2 separate regions of the Homo sapiens genome follow, and region 1 is linked to region 2. Evidence: promoter capture Hi-C in human tissues and cell types (Jung and others, 2019). All regions are on one chromosome and are shown on one strand. Each heading gives the region's core, a stretch centred on a gene start or on the middle of the fragment in contact. The rest is flanking DNA. Distances are from core to core; before and after follow the strand shown. Region 1 overlaps PLEK2 (pleckstrin 2). Region 2 holds the start of VTI1B (vesicle transport through interaction with t-SNAREs 1B).

Evidence for each region. Contacts are between HindIII fragments. The study calls those that stand out against the background at their distance.
Region 1: a fragment that was not itself captured here is called in contact with the fragment with the promoter of VTI1B in region 2 in 1 of the 25 tissues and cell types used here (mesendoderm cells).

The regions. Positions count from the first base shown.
Region 1 is chr14:67,388,833-67,392,672 of GRCh38, forward strand. PLEK2 (pleckstrin 2) reads right to left here. Exons shown (of 9, transcript NM_016445.3): 5 at 3,830-3,840; 6 at 3,494-3,595; 7 at 1,831-1,914. It also overlaps a transcript of GPHN not described here. Among named protein-coding and RNA genes, the nearest start is that of PLEK2, 21 kb to the right of the region's middle. RefSeq lists a silencer at 460-754. The HindIII fragment of the contact is 3,925 bases long and covers 1-3,316 here.
Region 2 is chr14:67,672,674-67,676,351 of GRCh38, forward strand. It overlaps VTI1B (vesicle transport through interaction with t-SNAREs 1B), which reads right to left and starts at 1,959. Exons shown (of 6, transcript NM_006370.3): 1 at 1,702-1,959. The coding sequence starts at 1,816. It also overlaps a transcript of GPHN not described here. RefSeq lists silencers at 1,634-1,743, 1,844-2,283. The HindIII fragment of the contact is 11,558 bases long and covers 1-3,678 here.

The DNA.
Region 1 (3,840 bases), core at 104-2,603, 280 kb before region 2:
CCACACCTGGCTAATTTTGTATTTTTAGTAGAGGCAGGGGTTCATCACCTTGGCCAGGCTGGTCTCAAACTCCTGACCTCAAGTGATCTGCCCTCCTCAGCCTCCCAAAGTGCTGGGATTACAGACATGAGCCACTGCACCCAGCTATAGTAATCATTTCTGCAAAGTTGATAGATTCCTGCACATAGGACATCGTTACACAAATCTAGTATGTGCCTAGCAAGAAACTTCGTGTGATACAAAACTGCGATTGGTGGTATCCCTGGACGATTCAGGGCAACTTTACACACCTCGTGCCTCAGGCCCTAGGAGCCCTTCAATTAATCAATAATCAACTTCATACTGCATGTTGGGCCCAGCAAGAGGTAGGGCAAAAAATAAAATGGTTAAATAAAATACTGGAAATATTTGTACTACTAAATGCCAACGGGAGGAAAGTTCAGAGAAGGAAGGGATCCGCCCCAGCCTGGAGGGTTCAAGGGCAGTCTCAGGGAGGACAGGAGAGTCCTGTCCTGGATAGGAGAGTAGGTCCCCAGGACAGGAGAGGGGCATTCAGCCTAAACAGGAGGAAGAGTGGGAGTAAAGTGCGGAACAAATTAATTGCAGAATGCTTTTGAGATGGTTCCTTATCTTGTACCTGCAGCCCAGAGATTTGGCAATTCTTTTATTTCCTTTGCACACTTGCTTTGAGTAATCTCTTCTGCACTGTTTCCATCTATGTATGTATATGAGCATTTGTGCATGTGTACATATATATGTATATATGTATATTTACATGTATATGTATTTATAGATAGGTGTGTATAGGCACGTATGTGTGTGTATATATTTTCTCAGTTTCCTATTTTAAAAGCTGAGACAGCAGACTCATCAGGGGCACAAAGAAAGTAGGTTAGGCTAGACCATGGTGAGAGTTAAATACAAAACTAAAGTGTTTTTTTTCTTTTTTTTTTTTTTAAGTGTTTTTTCATTTGTTTATTTTTTCCTTGCTTCAAACAGGATTTGAGGTAGCCAGAAAGGAAGGAGTTTGAACTCCATCCTGTAGCCAGGCCACCATGCCCCACAGAGAGGTCAACTGGAGCTTTTTGGAGGCTCCTCCTGCCACATCCCTCCCTGGCCCTGGCCTAGCTGGGTCCAGGCAGGGGTTCCTGACTGAAGCTCAGTGAGGAAGGAACTGCCCACTCTTCACTGTTTCAACAAAAACTAATGAAAGTCATACATTGCCCAAGACAAGGCTGAACAGCTAACTAAAGGGCCCTTTTTCTTTGCTTTTGACTGGAATTAGATCCACTTAGCATGTGGTAATACCTAGTATCAGAAACATAAAAATGATTTTTTTTTAATTTGCCATCAAAGTTTTTTAAAAAGCAAATTAGTAAATTATGGCTTAAATATTATATGGTGACAGAAACTTTTCAAAACATAGGTGGGGAAAAGTGGAGGGAGGCAGAATTAATGGGATCTTTGAATGGAAAGTGTGGAGAGGCTGGGAAGTGCCAGTAGGAGTCTCTGTCAGCCTACCTCATCCTCCCTACTCACAAAGCAGGCTTTGGGGAAGACCAAAAGATGCTTTTCCTCTGAAAATGATAAAGATGCCCTCCCATGGGAAAGTGGGGGATTAGGCATGGAAGAAACGGCTCAAGAAGCAGGCACCTATGTGATGACAGGGCAGAGCAGCTTGGACTGTGGAAGGAAAGGCATGGTGCAGCAGACTTTACGGCGGGTGCCAGGGGAAGGCAGGATATCCAGCCAGCTGCCCGCCATGCCAGGAGAGGAGTGTCTGGGGGCATCACAACATGGGACCAACATGGAGCCAGCATGCGCACTCACTTTGGAAGGGTCATAGTAATGCAGGAAAGCTGGATCCTTCCTTAGAACAAAGCGACGCACCTTCCAGTTTTTCCTCTTGTGTCCCTGAGGCAAAGAAATGGTTCAAAGCTCATTGGTGACAGCTGCATGTCCCTCTCTCCTGTATCTATGCATGTAATGCCAAACCCCCAACAAGCCAGCCCGCTCCAATGGGACTACATTCTAAAACCAGTCCACAGGAAACCTGAGGATAGCAATGACATGTCACAGACCTCCCTGCCAACACCCCCACTCAGTGACACTGTAGCAAAAATGCCATCACCTTAAGTCAAGTCAGCAGAGCCAAAGAGAGTCCATGCAGAAGGAAAGGGGACACACAATACTCAGGGCATAAAGGAGGACAGGGAGGCAGCAGGTGTCAGCTGGGCTGGGAGCACACAGGCAAACTTGAACCCAAGGGCACCAGCTAAGGGCCAAGTCAGTCCAAAAACAAACCTACAGCTACATGTATATTTGTCAGTCTACACGTGTGCCCACATGTGCAGTAAAACCACTTTCACATTGTGCATTAGGAAAAAAGCAAGAAACGATCAATTATATGATAAAATCTAAATGTGTAAGCAGCTGATATGTGTGTGTGTGTGTGTGTGTGTGTGTGTGTGTGACTTTCTTTGGCCTCACTGACCAGGAGGGCTAAGGTTAGATCACAAACCTTAGCCCTCCTAGTCAGGAACACCCTCAGAGTCCCTCCCACACCCTCCTCAAGCTCCCCTAGGGGCCTCTCTTCCTCCCCTCGGGAAGGACTCCTATCAGGCCCAGCAGAAGCAGGGCCTTGGTGTAGACAGGCAGCAGTGGGGATGATAAGAATCTAAGAGCAGATGAGGATCCTGATATGCAGGAAGCAGGTGACAGCAACAGCACATGCTCCGAGTAACGATGGGAGTGGTGCCGAGCCGTGTAGGTGCCCTCTGTGCAGACACACACATTCACATGGTATACAATATGTGCACAAACACGAAGGCTGTGCAAAATGTCTGCTACACTTCCTGGGCCAAGGACAGGTGATTTTGTTCACAGAATACCCTTTTTGTTAGGCACAGGTAGGAATGCCGCAGGACACGGCTTGCCTCTGGTTCAACATAGCTGCTCTCCCAAACACGGTTTAGGAGTAGTGGCCATGGCCAGGCTTTGAATAGGGAGCCTTACAGTGGAGAATCTGATCTTCAACCTACCGACATGGTGGAGAAAATTGTTTTTAGCTCAGAAAGTGTATCAAGGAGGCGTGCAGAATCTCACAAGGGAAGGCAGAGACCCCAGGACGCCCCAAGGAACAGAAGGCCAGCAAATGCAAAACCTCAAGCCAGTCAGCAAAAGCTTCCAAGACAAATATGTGAAGCTGGGCAATTGTGTAGAAGTTGTTTTTTGATGTTGTGATAATTGTGTGTGTGTGTAGTACATTTTTCCCGAACAGCCCTTGTGTCTGGTACACATGTGTGTGTGAGTGTGGGCATATGCCTGTTCTTTGACTTGCTCCTGGAGGCTGGTGCTGGGCTCTTGCTTTCGTAGATTTTGCTGTAATTGGTGCCCTCCAGCAGCCTCAGCCCTTCCCTTCTTCTGGGCTCACTGCTCCCTCCCCTAAGCTTGAGAACTGTCCATCTCTCTTCCCTGCTCATAGCAGCCATACCTGCTTGGCCAGGTAGCCTTGTTTCACCACCGTGCCACTTAACTCCACAGTGCTCAGGCTAATTTCTTCCTTGGGGCTTATCTTCTTTTTGTAGCTCTCAGCCTAGGGGGAAGGAGGGAGCAAGGACTCTGCTACAGAAAAGACCCAGGCCCAGGCTATGGCGGCTGTCAGAGGGGAAAGGAAATTCCTCAGGACAGGAACCTCATTCTGCATCAGGATGAAGTCGTCCCCCAAGCCCAAGGTCTCCTCCCATGACTGTGGCCCCCAGGCCCCCATTCTGTTGTGTCTTCCTTAACTTTTGCCCTGGTGGCAAGAAGAACCCACTCCCCAACTTACAAAAGTGTACA
Region 2 (3,678 bases), core at 709-3,208:
CTCAAGTGATCCGCCCGCCTCGGCTTCCCCAAGTGCTGGAATTACAGGTGTGAGCCACCGTACCCTGCCTGCAGTCTACTTTTCAATCACATAAATCAGATCCCACAATGCTTCTGCACAGTATCTTTTAACTGCATCCCATCATATTTAGAAAAAGGCACAAGTCTTTCACCATGGTCCACAAGGCCCTACATGATCTGGCCCTGCTTATCGCTCTCCTTTGCTCACTCCATCCCAAACACATGGAACTTCCTGCTCTTCGCTGAACACACCAAGCTCATTTCTGCTTAAAGGCATTTGCAGTGCTATTCCCTCCTTCTGACACTCACTTCTCCCTGATTTCTGGTTTACTCCCTCACTTCATTTAAGTCTCTGTTCAAACGCCATCTCCTCAGAGAGGACTTTCACAACCGCCCTATTTAAAACTGAAGTCCCAAAGAAGGCGGATCACTTGAGGTCAGGAGTTAGAGATCAGCCTGGCCAACATGGCAAAACCCTGTCTCTACTAAAAATACAAAAATAATTAGCTAGGGGTGGTGGCGCAACTGTAATCCCTATTACTCCAGAGGCTGAGGCAGGAGAATTGCTTCAATCTGGGAAGTGGAGGTTGCAGTGAGCCGAGATCGTGCCACTGCACTCCAGCCTGGGTGACAGAGTGAGACCCTGTCTCAAAAAAAAAAATGATAAATAATAAAATAAAACTGAAGTCCCATCCCCTATTCTTTTACTCTGATTTACTTTCCTGTATTCTTTAACACTGCCTCTTAATAGTTATATATTGTTTATCACCTACCCACTAGAATGGGGATGTTCGTATCTTTTTCACTGTAATTTGCAATATTCACCAGCACCTAGAACGGTGCCTCACAATTCACCAGCACCTAGCACACAGCAGCCTCACAATAAATATATATTAAATACATGAATTTCATTCTCACCAGTCATTCAATTCCTATGACCTTGAGTAATTCGTTGAGCAAACACCCAAGCTCTGACTCTTAAATAAAAGCAATAAAACAAAGTTTTGTCCTTGCCATCAAATTCTATATATCCGGAGGCCAAGAACTATAGCAGCTTTTCCTATGGATTTAGGGCCGGAAAACTCTAGCTCCTCCAGACAGAACTTGTAGCAACCTGAATCATGAAATTAAGGGGTAGTAAACAGTCTCAGCTGTAAAAACGTTCAAAACAAGACCACATCTAAATGCCACAATCAGGTTTTAAAGGCCAGCTCTCTACCCTCCAATAACTGGTATTTACCAACACCCCCAAATTATGACTCCTTTGGGTTTTTAACCCTTTTTCTGTGCTACGGATCCTCTGTCAGTCTGGTGAAAACTAGACCTGTCTTGAGACTAGTGCTTTTAAATGCATAAAACAAACAAAAACAGCTATGAAAGAAACCCACTCTACATTACAGGACCGCAGATGCAAAAGCCCCTCTGCTCTATTTGCCACAGTGAAAAAAGATGAGAAAATGTGGAAGGCCATAGAAGGATCCCAGGGAACTGAATCCCGAGGTCCAATTTACTCTCAGTGGCAGCAGGGAGACCTGGGGCTGGGACAAGCCAGCCCTAGGGGGCGTGTCTGAGGACGCGGAGGGAGGAGACGCGGGCCCGGGTCTGGGAGGAAGGTGGGAGAATCTTCCTTCCAAAGCGCGCAGGGCTGCGCTCCCCACGGCGTGGCCCACCCCCGCCTCACCGGTCCCCGCCGTCCCCAGCAGCCGCTCGGGCACCCCTTGTAGGTCTTCATGGAGGCCGCGGAAGATCTCGTGCAGCTTCTCGAAATGCTCCGAGGAGGCGGCGGAGGAGGCCATGGCGCAGGCCGCGCTGGAGCAGCGGCCACCGAGATTCGGGGCCCTGGGCCCTTTCCTAGCCCGGCGGTCAGCCGCCCAGCCCAGTGGCCATAACGGCGACCGCCGCACCACCGCCGCCCAGGACGAGGCTCTTCCGGAGCCGCGGCAGGGTCCTCTCGAGCCGGAACGCCCACCTTCTCCAGCCAGTGATTGCTGGAGCGCCGGCGCGAAAGCCTGACGAGAAGTCGGGAGACTGCGCGGCCTAGGCGACTCCTGAGGGAGCGGTGCCGCGCCGGGGCGATCGGCAGTCGCGGAACCCGAGAAGTGCCGGGTCCGGGTTGGGGAAAGGCCGCAGCGAAAGGGGCCTAGGGGACCTGCGGGACTGGCAGCGCGGCCGCCTTCCTCCCGGGCCCCGCCGGCCGGCGAGGGGCGGGCGCTGCAGTGCACGCCGGGGGATGTAGTTTGGCTCGGACGAGAGCGTCTCGTCCCGGGGTCGCGCGTTGCTCCGGGTGCCAGGTTCAGCCCGCGCGGCGACAGCGGGCTTCGGCCCGATTTGATGTATGTTTGCGTCTAGACGTCGTCCTCACTGTCATCGCGCTTTGCTTTGCCACCCTGACCCGAATTCCTCGTTTCGCGTCTTGACTGTTAGCTTTCGGCCCTGGAAAGATAGCCGGGCCAGGGGCTCTGCCTGCCGTCGGGAGGTGGAGCACTTTTCTTGGAAGGCCCAGCGGCTCCCCAAGCTTTCAGAAGTGGAACCCGGCCGGGCGAGTGGCTCGCGCCTGTAATCCCAGTACTTTGGGAGGCCGAGGTGGGAGGATTGCTTGAACCCAGTAGTTCGAGACCAGCCTGGGCACAATAGCGAGAGCTCTACCAGAAACCCAAAATAAGAACCGGGCATGGTGGCGCGCACTTTTGGCCCCAGCTACCCCCGGAGGCTGAGGTCCCACCACTGCACTCCAGCTTTGGGAGACCTTGCTCCCAAGTGGAGCGAGATCTTGTCTCCAAAAAAACAAAAAACCCAAAAACCAAAAATTCAAAAGTGGAACCCAGTTAGGATGACCTCGAAATACTCTAGCTGCTAGGCCCGAGTAATTCTCCTCGTGGAGACTAATTCTCCTCCTAGGCTGCCTCGTGCACTTGTTGACAACAGGTGTTTGTCAAGCGTAGGCATTGCGAGGGATCTGGGCATGTTGGTGAATAAAACATTTAATCTCTGCTCCAGGGGAATTTATAATCTGGTGTGGAAGGTGGGCCTGGCTTCATTAGGTCTCATCTGCCACTAAGTGTCACGTGTTAAAAATTACAAGGTCCCTTCTTGCACTCCATGGGTATAAATTCCTGTCTTCACGTCGGGCATGGTGGCTCACGCGTCATCCCAGCACTTTGGGAGGCCGAGGCGGGCGGATCACTTCAGGTCAAGAGTTCAAGACCAGCCTGGCCAACATGGTGAAACCCCCGTCTCTGCTAAAAACACAAAAATTAGCCAAGCGTGGTGGTGGGCGCCTGTAACCCCAGCTACTCGGGAGGCTGAGGCAGGAGAATCGCCTGAACCCGGGAGGCAGTGGTTGCAGTGAGCTGAGATCGTGCCACCACACTCCAGCCTGGGTGACAGAGAAGACCCTATCTCAAAAAATTAAAATAAATTATTATTTTCACCGATTTCACGGTTTGCTCAAGGTGTCTGTTCTCAAATGTTTGCTTGGGAGTTCAATTTTAAACTGCCTACAAATATTAAAAGATGTATGACTGCTCAGGAGAAAATGCTTTGCTAATTTGTATCTCCTGGGCCCTCATTTTTATTAGATCAAGTTCATTGGCTGTTGATTCAACACACTTTGGTTAAGCTCTTAATATGCACTGAGCATAGACATGACCAAGTCTGA